Regions from separate parts of the Homo sapiens genome. Here all the other regions are linked to region 1. Evidence: promoter capture Hi-C in human tissues and cell types (Jung and others, 2019). All regions are on one chromosome and are shown on one strand. Each heading gives the region's core, a stretch centred on a gene start or on the middle of the fragment in contact. The rest is flanking DNA. Distances are from core to core; before and after follow the strand shown.

Region 1 (6,772 bases), core at 1,878-4,377:
AAGAGAAGAAGTCAATGCCTAGCTTCAAATCTTCAAAGGACAGGTTGACTCTCTTGTTAGGAGCTAACGCAGCTGGTGACTTGGAGTTGAAGCCAGTGTGCATTTGCCAGTCTGAAAATCCCGGAGCCCTTATGAATTATGCTGAATCTACTCTGCCTATGCTCTATAAATGGAACAACAAAGCCTAGATGACAGTATAACTGTTTATACTAGGGTTTACTGAATATCTTTTTTGTTTGTTTGTTTGTTTTTTTGAGGCAGGGTCTCACTCTGCCACCCATGCTGGAATGCGGTGACGTAATTATAGCTTACAGTAACCTCGAACTCTTGGGCTCCAGTGATCCTCCTGCCTCAGTCTCCTGAAGAGCTGGTATTACCAGCATATGCCGCCACAGCTGGCTAAGGTTTACTGCATACCTTAAGCCCACTTTTGAGACCTACTTCTAAGAAAAAAAGATTCCTTTCAAAATATTAATGCTCATTGATAATGCCCCTAGTCACCCACGAGCTCTGATGGAGATGTACAAGGAAATGAATGTTGTTTGGATGTCTGCTAACATAACATCCATTCTGTAGGCCATAGATCAAGGAATGATTTTGACTGTCAAGTCATTTTATTTACAAAATACATTTTGTGAGGTTACAGATGCCATAGATAGTGATTTTATGCTGGATCTGGGCAAAGTAAAATGGAAGCCTTCTGGAAAGAATTAACTCTTCTAGATGTCATTAAGAACATTTATGGCCGGGCACGGTGGCTCACGCCTGTAATCCCAGCACTTTGGGAGGCCAAGGCAGGCGGATCATGAGGTCAGGAGATCAAGACCATCCTGGCTAACATGGTGAAACCCCATCTCTACTAAAAATACAAAAAAATTAGCCGGGCATGGTGGTGGGCGCCTGTAGTCCCAGCTACTCAGGAGGCTGAGGCAGGAGAATGGCGTGAACCCAGGAGGCGGAGCTTGCAGTGAGCCGAGACCACGCCACTGCACTCCAGCCTGGGTGACAGAGTGAGACTCCATCTCCAAAAAAAAAAAAAAGAACATTTATGATTAATGGGAAGAGGTCACCATATCAACATTAACAGGAGTTGGGAAGAAATTAATTCCAACCCTCATGGATGACTTTGAGGGGTTCAAGACTTCACTCGTGGAAGTAACTGCAGATTTGGTGGAAACAGCAAGAGAACTAGAATTGGAAGTGAAGCCTGAATATGTGACTGAACTGCTGCAATCTCATGATCCAACTTGAATAGATGGGGAGTTTCTTCTTACGGATGAGCAAAGAGAGAGTGCTTTCTTGAGATGGAAGCTCCTCTTGGTGAAGATGCTGTGATCATTGCTGAAATAACAACAAAAGATTTAGAATATTCCATAAACTTTGTTGATAAGGCAGTGGCAAGATTTCAGAGAACTAACTTTGAAGGAAGTCCTGCTGTGGATGAAATGGTATCACACAGCATCACATGCTACAGAGAAATCTTTCATGAAAGGAAGTGTCCATCGATGCAGCATTGTTGTTTTATTTTAGGAAATTGCCACAGCCATCCCAACGTTTAGCAACCACCACCCTGATCAATCAGCAGCATGGAGGCAAGACCCTCCACCAGCAAAAAGATTATGATTTGCTGAAGATTCAGATGACCATGTTAAATTAAGTTTAGCATAAAGCTGCCTCCTTATGCATTTTAAGTTCAGACTAACAATTTATTTCTTTCTCTCTCTCCCTTTCTCTCCCTTCCTTTCCTTTCCCTTCCCTTCCCTTCCCCTCCCTTCCCCTCCCTTCCCCTTCCCTTCCCCTTCTCTTCCTTTCTTTCTTTTCTCTCTCTCTTTCTCTCTTTCTCTTTTTTTGAGACGGAGTCTTGCTCTGTTGCCCAGCCTGGAGTGCAGTGGCACGATCTCTACTCACTGCAACCTCTGCCTCCCAGCAGAGAGAATCAAGAGATTCTCCTGCCTCTACCTCCTGAGTAGCTGGGATTATAGGCTCGCGCCACCAAGCCCGGCTAATTTTTTGTATTTTTAGTAGAGACAGGGTTTCATCATGTTGGTCAGGCTGGTCTCGAACTCCTGACCCCAAATGATCTGCCCCCGCCCCCCCACCAAAGTGCTGGGATTATAGATGTGAGCCTTTGCACCTGGCCTAACAGTTTCTCCATACATAGTGAATTGTAGACAACTACAATTGTAAATGTGTAAAGAGACTGTAACCTTGTAACAAGTAGCGAGTCTCAGTCAATCACAGCAGCGGAGTTTTGGCCAATCACAGGTGGCCAACTGTTTAAACAGTGCTCAAAATAGTCAGAGGTTGAGTTGCAACCAATCCAGCTGTTTCCATACTTGACTGCAATTTCTGTAAGTCATTTTCCTTTTTCTGTCCATAAATGTTATTTGAACATATGGCAGCCCGAATCACTCTGAACCTATTTTGGTTCCAGGGATTACTGGATTTTGGACTCATTCTTTGGTCAATTCAACTCTGTAAAGTTTAATTTGTCTAAAGATTTTCTGGGCCGGATACAGTGGCTCACGCCTGTAATCCCAGCACTTTGGGAGGCTGAGGCGGGAGGATCGCTTGAGCCCAGGAGTTCGAGACCAGCCTGGCCAACATAGCGAGATCCCGTCTCTACCCACAAATAATTTAGCCAGGCGTGGTGGCGCGTGCCTGTAGTCTCAGCTACTGGGGTTCTTATTCCTCGTGGCAACACATTTTGGAGAGGGGGAGGTATTCCTGTCTTTGCTGGGTGGGAGAACGGCCAGTGGGCAAGGGAGGACGAAAATGAGAACTGTGACTGCCAGAGGGCACGTCAATTTTAGGAAGAGAACGTAAGAAAGTTGGGTTCTGTGGAGACTTGGCATATCCACGCCACCTGGAAAATCATCACGTGCCCTCCGGGGCAAGACCAAGGCCTCAAGTCACCCCTCGCAGCCCAGTGGACCTCCCGGCCATCCCTTTCACGGCTCCACAGCGACCGCGAGCCGTTGCCCCGGTGAGAACCCCCCGGCACTGTGCGCGCCCCCGCCTGCCGTGCGCGTCCGCTTCCCTGGGATCCGGCGCCGCGCGCGCCCCCGCCGCGTCCCCGCCCCTTCCGGCCCGGGAGATTTGATTCCCTTGGCGGGCGGAAGCGGCCACAACCCGGCGATCGAAAAGATTCTTAGGAACGCCGTACCAGCCGCGTCTCTCAGGACAGCAGGCCCCTGTCCTTCTGTCGGGCGCCGCTCAGCCGTGCCCTCCGCCCCTCAGGTCAGTTCTCCCGCCTGCCCGCCGCAGTCGCAGTTGATGGCTGGGGTCTGGGCTGTGCGGGGCGCAGCGGCCCAAACCCAGTTTGCTCCTGGCTCTCGGGAGACTGGAGGATTTCATCGGAGCCCCGCGCTTTACCAGCCCTGTTCCCTGGATAAGATATTTGACCTTTCCGACCCGCGGTTTTCTTCTCCGTAAGTGGGGATAATGACCGTGTCTACTTAACAGGGTTATTGAAGAGGTGTTCAGGCTAAGCGTTTGCCACCTAGGAGGCTGCGATAGACGTGAATTCCCATTTCCCGTTTCCAGTTTCCGTGACTCTTCCCCGCGAAAAAAGTTGACAGAAGGGTTTCGAGTTTTTTCTGTTTGTACAACTCAGTTTACTGGGGCAGTGCAATAAAAAAGGAGATGTGTTATCACTACCTTTTCAGAGTCCAAATCCATCCTCTCCTATCATCTCCCCAGAGTAGTGGCTTCAGAGGCTCACACTAAAAGGGGAATTTTTTTTCTTTTTCTTCAAGACGGAGTTTCGCTCTTGTTGCCCAGGCTGGAGTGCAATGGCGCGATCTCGGCTCACCGCAACCTCCGCCTCCCAAGTTCAAGCGATTCTTCTGCCTCAGCCTCCCGAGTAGCTGAGCTTACAGACATCCGCCACCACGCCCGGCTCATTTTTTGTATTTTTAGTAGAGACGGGGTTTCACCACGTTGGCCAGGCTGGTCTCCAGCTCGTGTCCTCAGGTGATCCGCCCGCCTTGGCCTCCCAGAGTGCTGGGATTACAGGCGTGAGCCACCACGCCCGGCCTAAAAGGGGAATTTTCACCGAATGCTGTATCAGTAATAGGAGCAGCAGGATTGCTCCCACCAAGAAACCTGGTGTAGGGTTGTGGGAGCTGGAAAGGGTAGACTCAGGGAAGGCTGCCCAAGAGAGGAATCAGGTCCCTAGCACTTAGGACGGGTAATTACCTTTGGTATTTCTCCTTTGTTAGTGGAATGAGGTGAGTATCAGGAGCCTGGATTGTTGTTTAGAGGCCAGTGTTCCTAACTTTGGTTTAAATTTTGGTTTCTGTTTCCCATGGAGTCTGGCTAGAAAATCAGAAAAATCAGAAAAGCCCTTACTGGGCCTTCGTGGGCTTGTTTCTCCCAAGGGTCTGTCCTTTCTGTGTAACTACTGTGGACCAACTAGATGGGCAGATCAATCCCAATGAGTGCCTCATTGTTGGTGCTCCCAGAAGCCTTTGCAAGGGAGCAGGGCAGGATGCTAATTAAATGTGTTACAGGCCACATTATAAACCATTCTGAGCCCGGCGTGGTGGCTCACGCTTGTAATCCCAGCACTTGGGGAGGCCGAGGTGGGCGGATCACTTGAGGCCAGGAGTTCTAGACCAGCCTGGCCAACATGGCGAAACCCCGTCTCTACTAAAAATACAAAAAAAAAAAAAAAAAAAAAAATTAACCGGGCATGGTGGCGCATGCCTGTAATCCCAGCAACTGGGGAGGCTGAGGCACGAGCATCTCTGGAACCCAGGAGGCGGAGGTTGCGGTGAGCCGAGATCTAGCTACTGCACTCCAGCCTAGGTGACAGAACGAGACCCTGTCTCAAGCAAATAAACAGACAAAACCCAAAAAACCATTCTGTATTCTACTTCCTGTTTGAAATTATCCTCAGCATCAGTGTCTTTCCAAGCTCTGTAGATAAGGTAAATGTATTTATGCGGCAAGTAATAGAATAGCCCAAATAATATTGTTAAAAAATGCCCCCAATTTGTTGCTATCCTTTAAAATTTAACCATAAACGTCTTCTCATTATCCCAATTCCTTGCTCTTCTGAGAAGTTAAAGACCCCAATTATAGGCCGGGCGCGGTGGCTCACGCCTGTAATCCCAGCACTTTGGGAGGCCGAGGCAGATGGATTGTGAGGTCAGGAGTTCAAGACCAGCCTGGCCAAGATGGTGAAACCCCATCTTTACTAAAAATACAAAAAATTAGCCGGGCGTGGTGGCGCACACCTGTAATCCCAGCTACTTGGGAGGCTGAGGCAGAATTGCTTGAACTCAGAGGGCGGAGGTTGCAGTGAGCCGAGATTACGCCACTGCACTCCAGCCTGGGCAAGAGAGCAAGACTCCGTCTCAAAAACAAAAACAAAAACAAAACCCAATTATATATACCCCCAATTCTTCTATTTATTTAGTCAAGCCCAGAAGGGCACTCAGGTGTCTGATTGGGGTCTAATTTCCTTCTTCATTATTCACAGTTGAGAGGCTGTCTTCCGCGTTGACTGATAATATACCTCCTTCAGCAGCTACAAAGTTGGGTTACTCTGTTCTCAAGGCTTTTCTGTATTCTATATTAACAAACTCTAGAGGATAAACAGGGCACATGAGAATATTTAGAACCAGCTCCACATTCACAAAGATTTACAAATCAAGTATAATCTGCTATTAGTGTAGGAGTTTGTAATGTAAGCACCAGTTTTCTCACATTGCAGCAACAACGATATTCCCTTGATTCAGTAGCTATAATCTAGGCCCACATTGGTATTACTCATCCAAAGACATGATGTAATTTGAGAGAAGCGGGTAGATAGAGAAAATGGAAGAAAGAAAGAAAAAAAAAAGTGCATGGCTTCAGTCTTACCTTAGTTGTTAAATAAACAACTTGCCCATCTCTGCTAGTTTTCCAGAGGCCATGACTGGGATGTTTATAACTCTTTTGGGAGAAGTCTATTAAGTTAATTATGACACTCTTAAATCCCTAATCTGGGAAGTGAATTCCAGCATCTTACAAATTGCTTTCTCTTTCTGAGTGACAATTTGAAATAGCCCAGTCCTTTGCATGGAATGTAAACATGTGCATTCAGATTTATAGTCCAGTGTTCCTCCATTTCCATTCTCCTGCTCTCTTTTTTCTTCTGTATCAGGATTCCAAAGATTTCTGAGCCTTAGGTTGACCTCTATACTTTTACTGTTTTTATTGCCTTTTGGAATTTCTTAGTCCTATGGTTCCTGTTTGTTTTTAGGATGAGGTTCCAGTTTATCCCCACATTTGCCCCACTGACAAATGCCCTTTAAAATATTTCTGAATTAGTGTTGCTGTTTAAAGTATTTAATCCTGTGCCTTCAGGTGCCCAGTGAGAATAAATTTGTCCTCTGTGATATCTCCTTGCCTTGAGTAACTTTTTCTACTCCAGTGGAAGCAGAATGTTTCATTTTCTATCAACAGTTTTCCCTCAGTACTGGGACCTGACCTTGCTTCTTCTAATGTTTGCCTACTGTGTTCATGCAGATTTCGTTAGGTTAAATGTTCAACCTACTTATTAAGTTGGGTCCAGTGTGATCTCTTCCTAGGAAATGGCTTAATATTGTTTATTTTATCAGAATGTCGTTTTGCATGTTATCTTTTTGTGTGCTATTTCTGCTTTGATGTTGAAGACTGAACCTTGTTTTTTAAAGCTGATTTAATTTTTTTCTTGAGTGTCGATATTTTTCCTTCTAAAGCTTCTGCTCTAGTTTTCTATTCATTGACCAAATTTTTTTTG
Region 2 (6,772 bases), core at 2,351-4,850, 210 kb before region 1:
CTAGTGAAAACAAAGTCTTGATATGGCTATGTGACTGGACCTTTAAAAGAATTCCAAATTTAGATACAAGTGATAGCTAAATTTTGCTTTAGCCTTGAATTCCCAGATACTGGAAGCTGAGAAGGAGAACATCCTGGCACAAATCCTATCCTATTTCCAAGAAAAGATTGTCTTGCAGAAGCAATTCTACCTCTTCTGATGAGCCAAACTTGCGTCATAATTGCTTCTACAGTTTTCAGGACAGCAGCCTCTTTGGTACCCAGCATGGTATAGAAATCCTTAGTAAACAATGGTAAGACTGCTACAATAAACTGTCAAGTTCTTTCCACAGAGCTGAAATCTTCCACTTTAGCCACTTCTATAGGTTATCTCTCCTGTTTCTCCTTAATGTCTGATGGTCTTGATGCTGAACCTGGCCTATCAAAACAACTGGACCTTTTTTCCTGTGCCCTTCTTTGTACTTATATAGTACTTATATCTCCCAGTGTCCCAAAATAATAGGCCTCTCAACTATATCCCAGTCCCAAGACAGAATTAACTATGTTAACAGACTACCTCATCTGCTTTTCATCACAACATAGTGAAAAACCAGGCCTTCAGAAAAAGTAACTCAAGTTCAGAAAGGTTAATTTCCTTGCCTAAATGAATACAAATATTATTCTAACAAGTATTAATAATTTTATAATATTTTCATTTTCCAATTTAGAACCACATAAAAAGAAAAAAACAATACAACTAAAAACTTTTCTTCAGATTTACTTCCTGAAGGACTGCAGATGTAATAGAACACAAATTTAGACAAGTGACATTAAAATAACTAGAAAAATTTAAGAAACCAGAAATTTAAGGTAAACGTTTATACTAATTTGTATATGTTTGGATTCCTTTAATTCAAGAACCAGAAGAATGCCTAAGTTATTACGTTTGTTTGTTTGTTTATTTTGGAGACAGAGTCTCACTCTGTCGCCCAGGCTGGAGTGCAGTGGCATGATCTTGGCTCGCTGCAACCTCTGCCTCCTGGATTCAAGCGATTCTCATGTCTCATCCTCCTGAGTAGCTGGAATTACAGGCACGTGCCACAATGCCCGGCTAATTTTTGTACTTTTAGTAGAGACAGGGTTTCACCATGTTGGCCAGGCTGGTCTTGAACTCCAGACCCTAGGTGATCTGCCTGCCTCGACCTCCCAGGGTGCTGGGATTACAGGAGTGAGTCACTGCACCTGGCCAAGTTACTATGTTTAAGCATGCCATTTAAACATAGTAACTTAGGCATTCGTCTGGTTCTTAAATCCACTAAGGTTATATACCTGGCCTAAACATTCTGAAAAAATTAAAAATTAGTTAAAAACTAAACATTCTGACATAATAGTAGAGATACCTACCGATCGTGATTGCTGTGTTTGGAAAGGGACAAACTGGCCTGGTGGTGGCAAATGAGGAGGATGATGGGGAGAAAGGTGAGGAGGATGTATAAGAAATGGATCACTAGAAATAAGGGGTGGGAATGCAGCATATGGTACTGGTAAGTGCTGAACTGAACATGCCTGAAGCATCTGTAAGAGAAACCATTACAGTTTGGTTAAAAATATCAGAATATATGATTAATTTAAAAGGATAGTGAGATTAAAATCTGTCATTGTCACACCTCTCCCAAAATCATGAAAATGTTTTTAATAGCTTATATTAACAATGAAATACCAGTGTATTTTTTAATCTACTAGTAAAGTAATGGTACTAATAACTATTCTGTATTTTATATAATTTTTATAAATTGGTTGAAATCCTTGAGCCTTTTAACCATCTATGAAAAAGGGTTGGGGCGGGTGTGGGGGGGGCGGGGGGGAAGTGCTGCAAAGAAGAGGAAACTCTCTCTAGTTGGTTTAAGATGTAGCAAACACTACCGGTATTTCAAGAAACTCCCCTTTTCAATCCTGTAGAAATCTTTTTCTTCCTAGGATTTTCATAAGAGCACAACTCTCAACTAATTGCCTTATAATCTCTCAGTATTTTAGTTCCCAAATTTGGTACAATGTTTCTATTACTGAGAAACTAAGCCTGAGTAAATTAATCTGTTAAGTTAGTATTGGTATAAGTGTGCACTTGCTTTAATCTCACATTCAGAGCAACGTATTAAGAGTTACATTTAAATTTTGCTGTGATTTCCTTTGAAGACATTGTTGACCTTAGATACATCATTTAAATACAGCGCCCTCATTTCTGAAAGGAGGCTGAACTGAGATTAAAGATTAAAGGACAAAGCATAAGCTTCAGAGGCAAGAAAAAAAAAGTTAGTGTGAATCTCTACTCTCCTATACTAGCTGTCTCTACGGCACTGAGCAAGTCATATTTAACTTTTCAGATTCAGACACTAGAAAATGGGGGATGATGCTACTTTCATCATAGGTTTCCTATAGTAAGGAATAAGACAAAGCACTCAAAGTGCCCATTAAAACTCAGTAAGTGCTGAGACTCTTAAGTGTTGAACAATAAGGTCTCTGAGACTTAGGCTGACCTTCATTGGCTTTAATTATAAACGGTGTTGACATATGAGAAAACATGGTTTGACCCTCAGGATATCCAAATATATGTATAAGTTAATTAATGTAAAAATATATCCGGTTATAAAGCTAATTTTCTTAAATGGTTACTATAAGGATATTATTGAGATTTTTATTGCAATAAAATTGGCCTTTTTACTTGAAAGTGAAACTACAAAGACAGTCTCTTAAATTTTGTTTGCTTATATAATGCAGTTAGCCCCTCTAAAGAGGGTAAGAGTCGGGAAGTTACAAAACCAAATTCAGGCTGGTGTGCTTAATAGTAATATCTAATGAGAACAAAGATAGAGACTTACTGGAGGAGGCACACTACAGACAGGGAGGTGCTGTCCACTGAAAACCACAGAGCATCCTGGGACCTGCTGTGTACTACAAGCAGGGATGTGCTGGCCTGTGCAGAGTGGAATCCCATGTGGTGCCACTGTTGTTACTGTGTAAGAAACAGGGACTGTTCCTTGATGGAGCTTTAAAGGAAAAAACAAATGAACAAACTTTAGCTGTTTAGATAAAATGTTAACTATTCAAAATCAACATTTGGTCATTTATTGGCTCCTCTCTCAGCTACACGGATTTTCACAATGTACTCTCCAATAGTTTCGACCAGAATATTCATTGTCTTTGTAGGGGAGAGTTGACTATTTCAAGAGTATATACTATTTCCACAAAATTGGGGCTAAACTCCTCCCTCAAATGACTTGAAAAGCCCAGGGAAATAATGGATTACTATATTAACTCTTCTAGCCTGTCCTATAAAGGCAGAATAAAAAGAACTGGAATCATTAAAGCTTGTATCTTCCATTATTTGGTCACATTCAAAACAAATTTTAATTACAACTAGTGAAACAATGTAAAGTATATTTTTAAAAAAATGAAATCTCATTTCCCGCCTAGCCAATCTTATTCCCATCCTACCTGCCACCCAGAGGCAAACGATGCTGATAACATATCCTTCTTCTCTTTCTCCATGAACATATGAAAGCACAATTACATATAAAATGTCACATTTATTTTTGTTTTCTTAACAGAAATGAGATCATACTACCCTGCAACTTTGTTTTTCCATTTAATACTACATTGCAGGTATGTATGCAAGGGAGTTAAAAGTAACTTGTTCTCTTTGGTACTAGCCAGATATTTTAAGAAACACTTGCTTAACACAGTCCTATCATATGGTGTATCAACACATGTTCAAATTGTTTTCAACTCTTTTGCCAATATAAACACAACTGAAAAAATATGATATTAGTTTGGCCAGGCACGGTGGCTCATGCCTGTAATTCCAACACTTTGGGAGGCCGAGGTGGGCAGATCGCTGGAGGTCAGGAGGATGAGGCCAGCCTGGCCAACATGGTGAAAACCCGTCTCTACTAAAAATACAAAAAATTAGCTGGGAGTGGTGGCGGGTGCCTGTAATCCCAGCTACTTGGGAGGCTGAGGCAGGAGAATCACTTGAACCTGGGAGGTGGAAGTTGCAGTGAGCTGAGATCGCGCCATTGCACTCCAGCCTGGGCGACAAGAAAACTAATTTTTTTTTCAATCCTGTCTTATGGGGCTGAAGGAAGACTTAATTTCATCTGAGGCCAAGGCGGAAGCTTTGGCCTCCCAAAGTGCTGGGATTACAGGTGTGAGCCGCTGCACCTGGCCCCATCGATCCTCTAGGTTGTCATAATCATTTGTAATTTTTTTATTTAAGAGGTATATGAATCTATTGCTTGTTGTGTGTAATGAAAATATTTTCCTAGTCTATGTTTTATCTTTTGATGAGATCCTTTATTTAATGGCATATTTTTGTCTTTTGTGATTTTTTTTTTTAAATGTAGCCAGAGTGTAGCTTTGGGGTTTCCTTTACTGATGAGGTTATAAACATATATTCCTGTATTTCCTAATTCTTTAGTTTTTCGTATTCCAAAAGACTTATTTTTGTTTATAAAGTAGGGCTCTAATTTTGCTTGCACATGGACAATTATACTTGCTCCATTTATTAAACCATCTTCTTGCCTCTACAGTGAAATACCATCTTTTTAAAAATTCATTAAGTACGCACACATTCCTGGATTTCATGCTGCTTTAACTACAGTATCTTACTGGAAGAGTTAGCATCTGGTAAGAAATTCTTCTCACCATACATCTTTTCATTTTTTGGCATTGTCACACAGTTATTCTTACGTATAAAATCAATTTTATTCACTTCCAAAACCCATTAGTATTAAGATTGTACTAAATATGTTATTTTACAAAGGACTGAATTTTATATTAAGATTTTTTTTTTTTTTGAGATGGAGTTTCGCCCAGGCTCCAGCCTTGTCGCCCAGGCTGGAGTGCAATGGCACAATCTTGGCTCACTGCAACCACCACCTCCTGGTTTCAAGCAATTCTCCTACCTTAGCCCCGCCCCGAGTAGCTGGGACTACAGGCGTGTGCCACTACACCTGGCTTTTTTTTTTAAATTAGAGACAGGGTTTCACCATTTTGGCCAGTCTGGTCTTGAACTCCTGAACTCAGATGATCTGCCTGCCTCAGCCTCCCAAAGTGTTAGGATTATAGGCGTGAGCCACCGTGCCTGACCTATATTAAGACTTTTTATACCCAGAAACATTATGCCATTACGTTGAATATCACGGTTCTGTCTTTCAAGAAGAAATTAAGTCTTCCTTCAACCCCATAAGACAGGATTGAAAAAAAAAATTAGTTTTCTTCAAAAAGATTATTAAATTTATTTCTCAAAGTTTATTATTAAATTTGTTCCTCAAACTGTGGTTCTGTTATAATGACAAGAGGTTATTTTACTCTATTTGCATGTCAAAGCGGTTAGTGTTAGTACGAAGATAATTTTTATCTATATTATCTTGAATATATCAACCTTACCAACTTTTAAATTCTGGTATTTTTAAAAAACTTAGAATCTCCTTTCCTAGGTATACAACTACAGGATGAGCATCCCTTATCTGAAATGCATGGGACCAGAAGCATTTTGGATTTTTTGGAATTTTAGAAAATCTGCATTATACTTACCAATTTGGCATCTCTAATCCCAAAATCTGAAATCCAAAATGCTTAAAATAAACATTTCCTTTGAGTGTTGAGTCGGTGCTCAAAAAGTTAGATTTTAGAGCATTTCAGATACTCAAATTAGGGGTGTCCAACCTGAATAAGGTTCAACCCAACTATCATCTTTTTGTGTTAGCAAACTAGAACCTTCAAAAATAATGTGTATAAGTACCTATATCCTATATCTGATTTTAATGGAAAAGTATGATGAATTTTACCAATAAAACTATTGATTTCTAATAAACAGCCTTTGTCACAAATACCACCCCCCTACCCCGACCAACTGCACACACATTTTTTTTGAGACAGAGTCTTGATATATTGCCAACAATGGAGTGCAGTGGTGCCATCACGGCTCACCATAGCCTCAATCTCCTGGGGCTCAGGTGATCCTCCCACCACAGCCTCCCAAGTAGCTGGGACTACAAGTGCATGCGACCACACCCAGTTAATTTTTGTATTATTATTTTTGTAGAGACAGGGTTTCACTGTGTTGTCCAGGCTGTTCTCCAACTTTTGAGCTCATGTGATCTGCCCACTTCAGCCTCCCAAAGTGCAGGGATTACAGGCATGAACCACCGCGCTTGGCCAAGTACCATATTTTGCTGAATCCAAGACATCAGATTGTATAGTCATTTTTTCCCCATACTAAGAAAAATACTTCTGTTTTACTGGAGTGCAGTGGCGTGATCTCGGCTCACTGCAACCTCTGCCTCCTGGGATCACACCACTCTCCTACCTCAGCCTCCCGAGTACCTGGGACTACAGGTGCCTGCCACCATGCCCAGCTAATTTTTTCTGTATTTTTTGTATTTTTTAGTAGAGACAGGGTTTCACCGTGTTAGCCAGGATGGTCTCGATCTCCTGACCTCGTGATCCGCCCGCCTCGGCCTCCCAAAGTGCTGGGATTATAGACGTGAGCCACCACGTCTGGCCAGATTGTATAGCCATTTTTTCCCCATACTAAGAAAAATACTTCTGTTTAACTAACATAACGCTTGGTCACTTATAAATTTTATATATTTATTAGAAGCACTTTAAATGAGATCATACAACACTTGAGCATTCAAAAAAGGAAAATATAAGTGAAATAAAGTAGTTAGTTCTGATAGTTCTTCACTTTCAGAGTCTGACTCTGGTGAATCACTTTTAATTTCAGTGTCATT
Region 3 (6,772 bases), core at 3,007-5,506, 190 kb before region 1:
AAAACACAAAAGCATTTTGTTCTAACTTTCCTACCACCATACTAACCTTATTTTCTCCCTAGATTTAACTGTACAGTCGTCCCTCAGTATTCTAGGGAGTTGGTTCCAGAGACCACTCCCCCATACCAAAATCTTAAGACGCTCAGGTTCCTGATATAAAATGGTGTCGTATTTGCATATAACGTACACACATCCTCCCATATACTTTAAATCTCTAGATTACTTAATAATATCAACACAATACAATATAAATGTTTTATAAATAGCTGTTATACTGTATTTTAAAATTTGTATTATTCTGTATTGTTGTATTGTTACTTTTATTTCATTTTTTCTGACTATTTCCCATCCGTGGTTGGTTCAATCTTTGGGTAAGGAACCACCAACTAATCTAGTAAAAGTACAGTTATTTTCATCCTTTAATTTTAGTGAGAAAGTTAGTTATGTTCTGATAATCCTAAAACTTAAAAAAAAAGGTAAATAACCACTGAAATTTAAATATTCTGATTTTTTTTAAAAGGTAGAACAATCAAGACCTGACAAACTTGCACATGAACTACATGAGCACCAGAAACAGGCTGGCTGCACAACTGGTGAAACAGATTTGATTAACACTGACTTTTTTTTTTTTTTTTTTTTTTTGTGAGACGGAGTCTTGCTCTGTTGCCCAGGCTGGAGTTCAGTGACGCCATCTTGGCTCACCGCAACCTCCGCCTCCTGGGTTCAAGTGGTTCTCCTCCCTCAGCCACCCGAGTAGGTGGGACCACAGGCATATGCCACCATGCCCAGCTAATTTTTTGTATTTTTAGTAGAGACGGGGTTTCACCTTGTTAGCTAGGATGGTCTTGATCTCCTGACCTCATGATCTGCCCATCTCGGCCTCCCAAACTGCTGGGTTTACAGGTGTGAGTTACCATGCCCAGCTTAACACTGACTTTTTAAAAACAAAATGCTAGTAACGAATCATGATCATTAGCTTTTCATACATACCCCACATTGTATATCCTACTCTGAATAAGCCTAATGTAAGCTAAGACACAGAACTTTGAATTCTAAAAATTCACTACCTAAAATGGAGGCGAATGCTACAGATACTCACGATAAAGGTCAAATGACCAGAGAAAGCCCTTAGTTTATAAACCTTTATATATTTTCAGTGATGTTCAAATTGTGGGCTAAAAATGTTCTTACTTTACAAGACATGCAAAGCTTTTAAAAGTAGAGGTAAGGAAAGTGGCTGCGAAAAGTAAAGTTACCATCACTTCTCTTTGTGCTATGATGGTGACAAAGAAGAGACAAAGAATGGGAAGTGAAGGGAGCTATTCATTAGAGTACTTACTACTTTTCTTTTTCCTTTTTTTTTTTTTGAGACGGAGTTTCACTCTTGTTGCCCAGGCTGGAGTGCAGTGGCCTCATCTCGGCTCACCGCAACCTCTGCCTCCTGGGTTCAAGTGATTCTCCTGCCTCAGTCTCCCGAGTAGCTGGGATTACAGGCATGCACCACCATGCCTGGCTAATTTCATATTTTTAGTAGAGATGGGGTTTCTCTGTGTTGGTCAGGATGGTCTCGAACTCTCGACCTCAGGTGATCCGACCGCCTTGGCCTCCCAAAGTGTTGGGATTACAGGCGTGAGCCACTGCGCTGGGCCAATAAGTTTACTTTCTAACTCAAAGTCACAGGAAACTACAATGACTAAATACAGGCAAACATTAAAAAGTAGTTTGCTACATGCAATATGATTTCATCACTTCCCTTATCAATTTTAGTACTCTAAGGAACTTCAAAGAAATTCTCACAGTTTCCAGAAAAGGGAAGGGGTAGTAACCTACAAAGAAATAAGAATTATATTAACATCAGACTTCCTATAGCAGAAACAGATGCTAAAAGTTCTCTGAGGGAAATGAATATTGAACCCAAATTTTGTACTCCAATCACACTATTAATCTAGTGTGGAAGCATAAAAAAAATGACCTTTGTCAGATATATCAAGACCCAAAGGTGCTCCTTACATAGCAGAAAATCACTTGATGTGTGCTCACAACCTTCCCTATCTCTCTGATTTGAAGCTATTACACAATATCCAATAAATGACAGAAGTAACCCAGAGAGTACAATGAAATGAAATTCCAGGAATGGTAGTATAGGAAGTGTGGAAATTCATCATTCCACATTAGAACAAGAAGTCAGAGGGCTCCGAGAAAAATGCCCTAAATAGAATCAAAATATATGACTGAGAACTTGGAAGTTATTAATAAAATTTAAGCAGACAGCTCTGTCATTATATAAAAGACAATCAGTCCAGGAAAGTCAATGAGGAATGCAAATTCATCTGACCTTGTCATCTAAAGCATTCTTTGAGTGGAATGGGTAGTCAGAAGATTACATTCACTTTTCCATGGGCCACACATGCTCTTGGTTCTGCAATGACTAAATATATGGATGTTCCTAACATGATGCAAAGTGTTTACTAGTTTCTGATAGTTAAAATCAACCTAGGACAAGGCATGAAAGATCACTACTGTAGTTACAGAACAGAATGGAAGTATAAACTCTATTAATGTAAACTCTAAATGTTTATGATAAAATCACGGACATTTAGTGAAAATCAAAATACAAAAATCTAAAAATAATGGCTTAAATATAACATACTTTTTTGCTTGTTTTTTGAGATGGAGCTTTGCTTTTGTTGCCCAGGTAGAGTGCAATGGCAGGATCTCGGCTCACTGCAACCTCCGCCTCCTGGGTTCAAGCGATTCTCCTGCTTCAGCCTCCCGAGTAGCTGGGATTACAGGCATGCGCCACCACACCCTGCTAATTTTGTATTTTTAAGTAGAGATGGGGTTTCTCCACGTTGGTCAGGCTGGTCTCGAACTCCTGACCTCAGGTGATCTGCCCGCCTTGGCCTCCCAAAGTGCTGGGATTACAGGCGTGAGCCACTGCGCCCGGCCTGTTTTTTTTTTAAAGACAGTCTCACTCTGTCATTGAGGCTGGAGTGCAGTGGCACGATCTCAGCTCACTGCAACCTCCACATCCCGGGCTAAAGAGATGCTCTCACCTAAGTCTCCCAAGTAGCTGGGACTACAGGTGCACACCACCATGACCAGCTAATTAAAAAAAAATTTTGGAGATACAAGGTCTCACTATATTGCCCAGTTTGGTCTCAAACTCCTGGGCTCAAGCAATCCTTCCACCTCGGCCTCCCACAGTGCTGGGATTACAGGTGTTGAGTCATTACGCCTGGCTAACAAACATGCTTTTAAAATGCAGTGCTAAATGCAGGGGAAAAAAGGGAAATCATCAAGGACTCAGAAACTGAGGAAAACTGAAGACCAAATTTGTATTTTTGATGCTCTCAAGAGGAATAGAAGATAAGGCCTTATGACTGAGACCCCTACATGAAGTAGTCAAAATTTCCAAAGTAGTACACTTAAAAAGGAAGACAAGAAAAAGTCATTCCAGTGGAAAAGAGAAGGAAACGTCAATAAGGAAATGTCTGCTCTGTGTTGACTTCGAGTGGAAGTGGGTTTCTCCCGTGAGAATTCAAACTTAGGTTCACTCCTCACACCCTATTTGGGGTTCAGATTTTCACGATCCATGCTGTCTGTGAACCTCTAAACATAAAAACATAAAAACTCATCCAGAACTACGCTACTACAAGGTCTCTTTACATGAGTAAATACAAAACTGAATCTGGAAGGATATTCCCACTGCTTTTGTAAACTAAAAATAAAATCCCCCCCAAATGACTGAACTGACTCTCTCTTGACTACAGAGACCCCAGAGAAACTAGAAAAATTGAGTTCTTGGCCTGGACAGGAAGGAAGACTAGATACACCTCATTTTATCTCTCCATCCCCTGCTTCTGGAGTTTAGGCAAAACTGACCAGCATTAATGTTAAAATAGAAATTATAGGACCTAACAGAATGGACTTTTTGTGACAATAAGATACCAAATTATAAACAGGACCTAAGGCCAAGCCAGACAAGGGTTAACTCACACACCCCTACAGGTCACTCTAACCCAGTGTATTGGTTAACAGACTTTCTTATAAGATTCCCTTCTGCTGAATCCAAATTTTTAGACAAAGCTTTACTCTATAAACCAACTGCAAATTACAGAATCTCATCTCTGAATCCACCTAAAATCTTTAAGTCCTCACTTCAAGATATTCTGTGTCTTTTCGGTTTGAAACAATGTATACTTTCCATGTATTGATTTATGACTTTGTAACTCCTGCCTCCCTAAAACTGTAATTCGACTGTAGTGGGTACATTTCCTTGGGACCTCCTGAGACTGTTTCCCAGACCATGGTCACTCATATTGTCTCAGAATAAACCTCTTTAAAATGTTTTCACAGAGTTGGGTCTTTCCATTAATACCTATGCCAGTAGTTCTCAAACCTTCATGCTTCAGAAACACCAGATTGCTTGCTGGCCTCACTCCCCCGTCTCTAATTCAGAAAGTCTGGACCAGAGGTCCATGAACTGTCATCTCTACTATTATCCCAGGTGATGATGCTTGGATAATTTAGATTTTGAATTATCAGGCAGAGAAGTTCTTTCCCTCCTCTCCTTGTTGATTCTAGGCCAGTGGACCAACTTTTCAAAGTACCAAGTGTTGACAATTTAAAATTCATAAGATGTTGATTCAAATCTGGTACAAGTACTGTCTCTATTATTTAATAATATAGAACGTTGTACAGACATTACAGTATAGAACACTGCTACAGATTTAGGGATCAAGGGAGGTCAAAGAGGTCATAATGGGAGGAAGGAAGGAAAGGCAGGTTTTATGCTTAGCATTAAATCTGATAAAAATGAGTCTAGGAGTACACCTCTATTAACACCAAACCATTTTTATTACCAAAACATCAACAGAAGTGAAATGAACCTGAGGCAGGCATAAGAATGCATTCCATAATTCCAGATGAACAAGTCAGAAGTCATTAAAGGCTAAAGAAAAACAATTTTATATGTAATATATATCTTGGGTTTATATATATATCAGCAAGTCTTAGAGATAATAGGAGATGCTGAGCCAGACAAACTTTTCCCAAAACAGAAACAGGTTTCAAGTTCTACTCAGTGACTACAACATGCCTCTAATGGCAACCACTAGTGAGCCCTAAGGACTTCCTTCCCAAAGCAGCAAAGAGGCAACTTGTGTGGGGAAATGGAATTTCTCAAGAACCTGGTCCTCTTTCTAATCAGTCAGGACTACTCTTCACCTTAGATTTACAAATAAGCACAGCATGAGTTAAGAATCTTCAATTCTCCTTTAAACTCCCAGACTTTCTCTACTTGCCTTAATTACCTTTAACAAAAATGAAGTTTCTTATTCCACAATTAAGGAAAAACAGTTAAATGCAAAGGGCCCAGGAAGAGCAAACTCTCACTAAATTTTATTCATTTTAAATAAATGTGAAAACACTTAGAAATCAACACTCTATATAAGCAACTTGTTACTAAAAAATAAGACAAGATCCTTTTTTGTTTTGCAGAAGATGGATATAAGCTGGGGAAAGCAGAAAATTAAGAATTTTATATTTGGATCACACAATAGTTTACAAAATGACTTCTAACATTACCTCATTTTATTCTCCACAAGCTGAGGTTTTCATTTTTAAACTATGTCCAGATAATACGTAAAATGTGGTTTTTTGGTTGCTGAGACAGAGTCTCGCTCTGCTGCCAGGCTGGAGTGCAGTGGCGCGATCTCAGCTCACTGCAACCTCCGCCTCCTGGGTTTAGGCGATTCTCCTGCCTCAGTCTACCAAGTAGCTGGGACTACAGGCGCGCACCAGCCAATTTTTGTATTTTTAGTAGAGATGTATTTCACCATGTTGGCCAAGACAGTCTTTATTTCTTGACCTCATGATCCGCCCACTTCAGCCTCCCAAAGTGCTGGGATTATAAGCATGAGCCACCACGGCCGGCCTAAATGTGTTTCTATTAGTGAAACTGAAACTTTTTAAGGCAGTTCAGTGAACATGCTGCCCTTGAACTACATAATGTACACAGTCTCATTTCACATAGGACTTTCATTTGATGTATAATTCTTATACTCCTCAGATCACAATTTTGCAATGAAATTCTGTCTCTCAACCAGACAACTAATATATTCTCCTGAAATGTTATTTTACTTGCAGATATAGAAGAGGCTCTGAATGTTGTTTTCAAAAGTTACCATGTTGTTTTCAAAAGTTACCATAAACATGCAGAAACAAAAAAATTTTGCTCTTTGATACGTGCCAAGTTTTTTTTTTTTTAAACCGAAGCCCAAAGAAAATAACAGTTTGATATGCAGTGGCTGCTCAGAAAGGCACTCTAGTAGTATAACGTATTGCAATCACACCATGATGAATAGTAAAATACGGTATTTTCCTATCATTGGCTATAACTGCTAGTCCACCAAAACACAGGAACTATAAATAAAGTGGTTTCCTAAGTCTAAGGAGGCCTGCATGGCTAGTATTTGAGTAACAGACTAGTGATGTTATATACTATATTTTTCACAGTTCCTAATTACACAAAACATCACTGGTTCACAAAAACTAATTTAGCTTGATGCTACAATTGTAAGTATCACTATATTTCTACCAGAATACTAGATTCTACTCATGTATCTGTAACTATAATAATTTTAAGCTATAATTATAGATAAGAGACTAAAACAAAAAATCTAAAGTATAAACATGAAACCAGTGAAAATAGGAAAGATACTAAAACAACCTGAAATCAAGAGATCCTTTGAGAGATACCCCGCCTGGA
Region 4 (6,772 bases), core at 1,662-4,161, 140 kb after region 1:
CCATCTTCCACCTCATCTTTATTTTTTCATTTTTTATTTTATTATTTTATTTTTTGAGACAAGGTCTCGCTCTGCCGCCCCAGGCTGGAGTGCAATGGTGTGATCTCAGCTCACTGCAACCTCCACCTCCTGGATTCGAGCGATTCTCCTGCCTCAGCCACTGGAGTAGCTGGGATTACAGGCATGTGCCACCACCACGCCTAGCTAATTTTTTGTGTTTTTAGTAGAGATGGGGTTTCACCATGTTGGCCAGGCTGTCTTGAACTCCTGGCCTCAAGTGATCTGCCCGCCTCAGCCTCCCAAAGTGCTGGGATTACAGGCGTGAGGCACTGTACCCAGCCCACCTCCTCTTCTATTCCTCCCCTTCACATGTCCTCCACTCCTGCCAAATGGGTTATGTGTGTCCTGCTCACTAGGGTCTTTATCTTTGTCTACATTCTTTCCTCTGCTTGGAGAGCCTTTCCTCTGTCTCTTTCTGGCCCAATCTTGCCTGTTCTCACCCCAGCGAAGGGGCCTGCTTTTCATGAACAGTGCCAGAGCCTTCCTACCACGCTCCATCTCTCCTTCCCCATCTCTGCCTCTTCCCTCTCCTACGCCACTTGGGCAGTTCTGCAGGCTCTTGTGGTTCTTTGTGCTCTTTCTGCATGTGTCTGTTTCCTGTAGTAGAATGAAAACTCCTTGAGGGCAGGCATGGCCAGATTCCCCACACATCCTACAGCCTAGGACCTTGTTCTTTGCAGAGGAGGGCTCAGTGACTGCTTCTTGGAATTGAAAGAAGCAGGTGGACTGACATACCTCATCCTGTAGAAAATAACCAAATAGCCTGAGCTGCTGAATGCAATGTTTGCCATTTGAGCAGATGATTCCAAATGTCTTGCCTGCTCTCCTTTTCCTATTAATTTTTTTTTACTGTGGTAAAAAGTATATAACATAGAATTTGTGGTTTTAACCATTTTTAAATATACAATTTAATGGCATTAAGTACATTCACAAAGTTGTACAACCATTATCTTTGTCTGTTTCCAGAACTTTAAAATCTTTTCCTACAGAAACTCTATATTCATCAAATGATGACTTCCCATTCTCCCCTCCTCCCAGCTCCTGGTAACCACCACCCCACCTTCTGTCTCTATGACTTTGACAACTCTAGATGCCTCATGTAAGTGGAATCATGCAGTATTTGTTCTTTTGTGTCTGACTTATTTTACTTAGAATAATGTTTTCAAGGTTCACCCATGTGGTAGCATATATCAGAATTTCCTTCCTTTTTAAGGCTGTATAGTATTCCAGTGTACGTATATACTACATTTTGTTCATCCATTTGTCCATTTGTACACACTTGGGTTGTGTCCGCCTTTTGGATATTGTGAAGAATGCTGCTATAAACACTGGCATACAAGTATCTGTTTGAGTCCTGCTTTCAATTCTTTTGGGTAAACACCTAGGAGTGGAATTGCTGGATCATACGGTAAGTCTTCTGAACTTCTTAGGGAAGTGCCATACTGTTTTCCATAGCAGCGACACCATTTCACATTCCCACCATCCCTTTCCTATTTTTAGGCCAGAATTCATCCTCTGCCACAGCTCTCCAGAATCTCCCATTCATCTACACTCCCCAAACAGCCACCCTGTGTACAAAGCGGATGCGCCTGTCCCACTTATTAGAGAAAAGAAGTTGCATTAATAGTTTAAAGTGTGGTGTTATAGCTGGCTCTGGCAGCAGGTGATTGATGGCTTCCATTACACCCCATTAGATATTTTATTCTTGTTAAATGAAGAGCAGCCAACTTTGTCAAGTATTTTTAGTTCCCTCTGGTCTTATTGGTCCGATCTATTCTTCAGGATGGCCTGTAAATGGCCACATATGGCTGCGTGTCTGCAGGACGGATGGCCGTGCAGCTGGTGTTCATTGGCCACCAATTTACCCCGGCCCCCTTCATTGTGAGCCTGACAGCGCCGGGAAGCCTTGTAGATCTAACCAAATATATCTATTTTCTAATTGTCTATTTATCACCTTCTGGGGATTTGTGGGCCTCCCATCTGAAGGCAAAGGGGGGATGGCCTTGAACAATGATCCTTGTCAAGGCTCTCGCTCGCTCTAAATTAGGGCCTAGTTGCTAAATAACTAATTTAGTCCTGCTATCAAGCTGAAAAAGTGGGTATTCAGCGCAAAGTGCCAGCTGGGGAATTGATTATGTCTTCTCTCAGCGAGTGTGATAAACCTGCTGCCGAGCCACTGCGGAAGGCCGGAGACGGCTCCCCGGGGGCGGCGGCATTTCATAACGGAGAATTGGCAGAGGGGCCAGGTTCACTCCCTGCGTGGCAGCTGAAGTCTGGGGCACCAGGTCTGCCCGCCACGGCGCCCATGGGAGTCTTCCCTCACGGCACCCCCCTGGTTGGTGGCTTCTGCTTAGAGCTGTGGGGACGTGCGCATCTGTCAGAGAAGGGGACGAAGGTGAGAACCGGGGAGGGGAGAGGAAGGTCATCCTGACAGCCCCAATTTCCAATTAGAGTGAGATTATTGAAGGTGGCCCAGGCTCAGGGTGGGGGAAGTGGCAGGAAATAAATGGGAATAGGAGGTACTTAGGAAAATGTATTAGTAACAACTCCCAGATTCTGAGCAGAGAAGGAGGGGTAGCTGAAAATAGAGAGTTAAGGTTTACTGCTTGAGAAATCTAATCATGACAACAACAACCCTTATTTACTCAGCCCTCCCCTCCACCAGGCACCGGGCCAGCCACCTCCAGACCCGGGATCTCCTGGAATCCTCTCAATATCCAGGCAGATTGGGGTTTCCACCCCAATTTGTACTTGGAGAAAAGGAATTTCAGAAACTTCACCTAATCAACTCGTCTAAGGCTGAACTCTGCCTGGAAATATCTTCCTCACTCAAAATCTTTTAATGCCTCCATCATTCCTTTGTTCAACTGATTTTCATCACATGCTCTTCTGAATGCTAAGGGCTGGGGCAGTGAATTGGGCAGACAAGGCCCTGCCTTCATGGACCTGGTGTTCTAGTGGGGGAGGCAGACCAAGCCAGTGGTTCTCAACACAGTTGGACCCTGTGGAGAAATAAAAGGAAAGAAATTTTTAAAAATATGGATTTCAATATGCAAATGTTTGGTCGTAACTACATGAGAAAGCACGGTGAAGAACTCAGGCATTTACACTTATTTATATTGAGTGTTTGAATGTAAGAAGAAAGATAATATCCTACGGAATGTTGATGACATTTTCTCTTTATCTTTGACATTTTGAAATAAGGGCTAAAAAAAGTACATTGGTAAATATACTTAGAATTGCCTTCAATGTGACAGACACAGATGCAGACCGATAGAGGGAGAGAATCAGTGACTCAAATACCATGGTATTTCTTCATTTTCTGAAATGACAAAACTCTGAGTTGAAGGAAGTAAAATAATCTTAAAAAAAAAAAAAAAAGAAAAAGAAAAACTGAGCCAGGCAGGGTGGCATGCACCTGTAGATCCACTACTCAGGAGGTTGAAACAGGAGGATCACTAGAGGCTAGGAGTTTAAGATCAGCATGGACAGCATAGCAAGACCCGTCTCTAGAAAACAAAACAGAACGAAACTAAAAAACTAAATGTTGGTTACATTCCTGGAAAAGTCAGTGTAAATTGAACACAATCCATGCCTTGCAGGATGTCTAGTATCCCAGTCGCCCTCTCCCTCCCAATCACTGTAACAGCCAAAATACAACTGAACAAACAAGAAAATAATGACACAGTGACTACAATGATCAAAACAAAACTGGCTGACAGGATTGAGAGAAGACAAGGGGCTACAGTGCATTGAGAAGTCAAAGTTTCTGAATTGTGTTACGTGGTCCATTTAAACCCAGATGCTCCTGGGGAGGAAAAGACATAAGCATCCTTTGGAGTATTCATTTCTCCATGATAAAAAAAAGGAAAGTCAGGAATCTGGTTGGTTTGGAAGCCCAGAAGACTTGGATTGGATGCTGCTCTACCAGCTACCAGGTGACCTTGGGCAACCCACTTTTTCTTTGTGAGCCTCAGTTTTCTCATCTGTCAAATGAGGAGAGTGATTATTACATTGTTTTCCCTTTAAGTTAATAAGAAATCCAAAGCGATGGGAACAAGTGCTTTAATCACCATAAAATTCAAAGTGGACTTTGTATTTGTAATGGGAAAAATGAAAACTCAAAAGCCTCCAACAAAGGGAGTGGTTTTTAAAAAGCATGGCACAACCAATTCTACTGAACATTATGTAATCATTAAAATGATGTGAAATAATAGTTAATGCCATAGAAAGATGTTCATGGAGTGTTAGGTCAGAAAAGCAAGTTGCAAAATAATATGGAAAATATGAACGTATGATTGTAACCAAAAGAGTGAACAAATGAAACACCAGCCAACAACACAGAAAGAATTAGAAGAATTTATACCAAAAAAATAACTGAAGTCATCTCTGGGAATTAGAGTTGATTGTAGTGGTTTTTGCTCCTCTGTAAAATGAACTGTATCTTGTTTATAATAAGAGAAACAAGCCATGGACATAATTTTTAAGATGCTTGTCCCATGCTGACACCCTTGCTATAGTCACTGGCGCTGTGTCTCGGTGGGTGGCTAGTTTAGAACTAAAGCTTATCTTCTTTCTTGCAATTTTGCATGTGCAAAGATAAACAGTGTGGTCACTTGCTGTCCAGGGAAAGCTGTGTCCTCCCAAGGAGAGATTGGTTCTCTTTGTATATTACATTCTTGTATTAGTCTGTTTTCACACTGCTATAAAGAAATACCTGAGACTGGGTAATTTATAAACAAAAGAGGTTTAACTGACTCACAGTTCTGTATGGCTGGGGAGGCCTCAGGAAACTTGCAATCATGACGGAAGGGGAAGAAGGCATATCTTACATGGTGGCAGGTGAGAGAGAGAGAGAGAATGTGAAGGAAGAACTGTTAAACACTTATAAAACCATCAGATCGCATGAGAACTCACTCACTATTATGAGAACAGCGTGGGGGAAACTGCCCCCATGATCCCTTCACCTCCTCTCAGGTCCCTCCCTCAACTCCTCGGGATTACAATTCAGATTACAATTCAAGATGAGATTTGGGTGGGGACACAGAGCCAAACCATATCAGTTCTCTACCCTCAGCATATGGGTCACCTGGCTCCAGGTTCTTACTGGCAGTGTGTAAGATATACTGGTTTCTGGGCTAAGAACTATTATTTTAATCCACATGACACCCTATGAGGCAGGCATTATCATCCCAATTTTATAGGCACAAAAGTGAAGCCCAGAAGGATTAAATGACTTGCTACTGATCATGTGTCTTCTAAGTAGAAGAACAAAGATTTAAACTGGGATGTCTAACTCCAAAGCTAGCTCTGAGTCACTGGGCAAAAGTTTGTAACCACCAGGGAGACTAATTATTGGCTGGGTTTTCATGTCTCTATAAATGCTGTTGAAAAATATCTAGAGCTTTAATCTCCTCATGGCTAAATGCACATAAACACCCACCTCACGGCCTGGCTGGGAGACTTAGCAGGGTGGCAGCAGAGAAGCCTTGGTGCACTGTTTGTACAGACGTTGCACCAGGTCAACGTGGCTTCCTTTCCCTGGCTGGGGACTGGGTAGGGATTACAGCCCTTACCACTGGGCTCTCTCTCTGCCCAAACTGGAATCCAGTACATGGATAGGTCAGTCAGGAGAGATTCCAATGAAGGACACTGAGGACCCTCAAGGGCAGCCCTCCATAAACCTCAACCTGGGAGAGGGGCTCTTGAATTTAGCCAAAGACTTCAACTTTCAACTTCATCCACTCACCCATTATGTCCCAAAAAAGAGGGATTTACCTTCCATTCACGTCCTTACCAAATCCCTCCTGTTACAGACCTTACTCTCAATCACTTAATTTTGACCCACAAAGCACTATTTGGGAACAGTGTATTAGTCCAAAGTAACTTCAATCGATCCTATGTTTCAAATGCTTATAAAGGTCACTTACCGGAGCAAAAATGGAGATGAAAACACGAAGCATAGATTTAGTCATTTTTCCTTATGATTGCAAGTGTTGGATGTTGTAAACAAGCCTTTTAACGATCCCTTTAAAAAACAATACACTAAGTGGTTCGTTTGCAGAGCTCGTGAATAGCGAATGGGTACTTGGGGCTAGGAGTATCATTTCCAGTGACAGCATCATCCACGATGCAAAACGTCCTGTATCTTAAATGACTTAGATGGAAGTGAAGATGATGTGCTCCGGAAAGCTGTGCTAGATGATTCGAGAAGTGGCTTTTAGTGATGACAAGGATACTAATGTCAAAGATGTACATGAGGAGTGAATACAATTGGTTCATGAATTAAATGTGAACATGGAAAAAAAGCAATGTTTCTAAATATACTTGTGATTAGCCAAAGAGTTTATATTCGTATTTTAACTTCTGTTTAACACATTAATTTATGACTACATTGGTGTGTTAACGTATTTCATGTGAGTGAATTTAAATGTATGTATAACTGAAATTTTAAATTAATTAAATATTTTAAGTAGAACTTTGATTATCTCATCTATATTTTTAAAAGTTTATACATGCAAGTTGATCAAAAGCTTTGTTCTGGACCTTTCCATTGGGAAAAGGCAGATCTCTCTATGCTTGGGGTTGTCACATGGTTAGGCATGTTTACTGTAGGCCTACTATGTACCAGGTGTGGTACTAGCTGCACAGTGAGGGAGCCTGGGTGAAGGGGAAACCAGCTCAAACCACCACCTGGGTCTCCTGGGGCTTG

Evidence for each region. The method cuts DNA at HindIII sites, captures the fragments that hold promoters and counts their contacts. A contact is called where the count stands out against the background at its distance.
Region 2: a contact is called between a fragment that was not itself captured here and the fragment with the promoter of MELK in region 1, in 1 of the 25 tissues and cell types used here (mesendoderm cells).
Region 3: a contact is called between a fragment that was not itself captured here and the fragment with the promoter of MELK in region 1, in 1 of the 25 tissues and cell types used here (spleen).
Region 4: a contact is called between a fragment that was not itself captured here and the fragment with the promoter of MELK in region 1, in 1 of the 25 tissues and cell types used here (H1 embryonic stem cells).

What each region holds. Positions count from the first base shown.
Region 1 is chr9:36,569,768-36,576,539 of GRCh38, forward strand. MELK (maternal embryonic leucine zipper kinase) reads left to right here and starts at 3,128. Exons shown (of 18, transcript NM_014791.4): 1 at 3,128-3,240. RefSeq lists an enhancer at 1,847-2,346 and a silencer at 2,930-3,209. The HindIII fragment of the contact is 26,418 bases long and covers 1-6,772 here.
Region 2 is chr9:36,354,921-36,361,692 of GRCh38, forward strand. RNF38 (ring finger protein 38) reads right to left here. Exons shown (of 12, transcript NM_022781.5): 5 at 2,855-3,022; 6 at 1,383-1,553. Among named protein-coding and RNA genes, the nearest start is that of RNF38, 42 kb to the right of the region's middle. The HindIII fragment of the contact is 4,996 bases long and covers 1,103-6,098 here.
Region 3 is chr9:36,377,551-36,384,322 of GRCh38, forward strand. The region is part of intron 2 of RNF38 (ring finger protein 38); the gene reads right to left. Among named protein-coding and RNA genes, the nearest start is that of RNF38, 19 kb to the right of the region's middle. The HindIII fragment of the contact is 8,504 bases long and covers 5-6,772 here.
Region 4 is chr9:36,712,046-36,718,817 of GRCh38, forward strand. No RefSeq gene overlaps it. Among named protein-coding and RNA genes, the nearest start is that of MIR4475, 110 kb to the right of the region's middle. The HindIII fragment of the contact is 5,393 bases long and covers 216-5,608 here.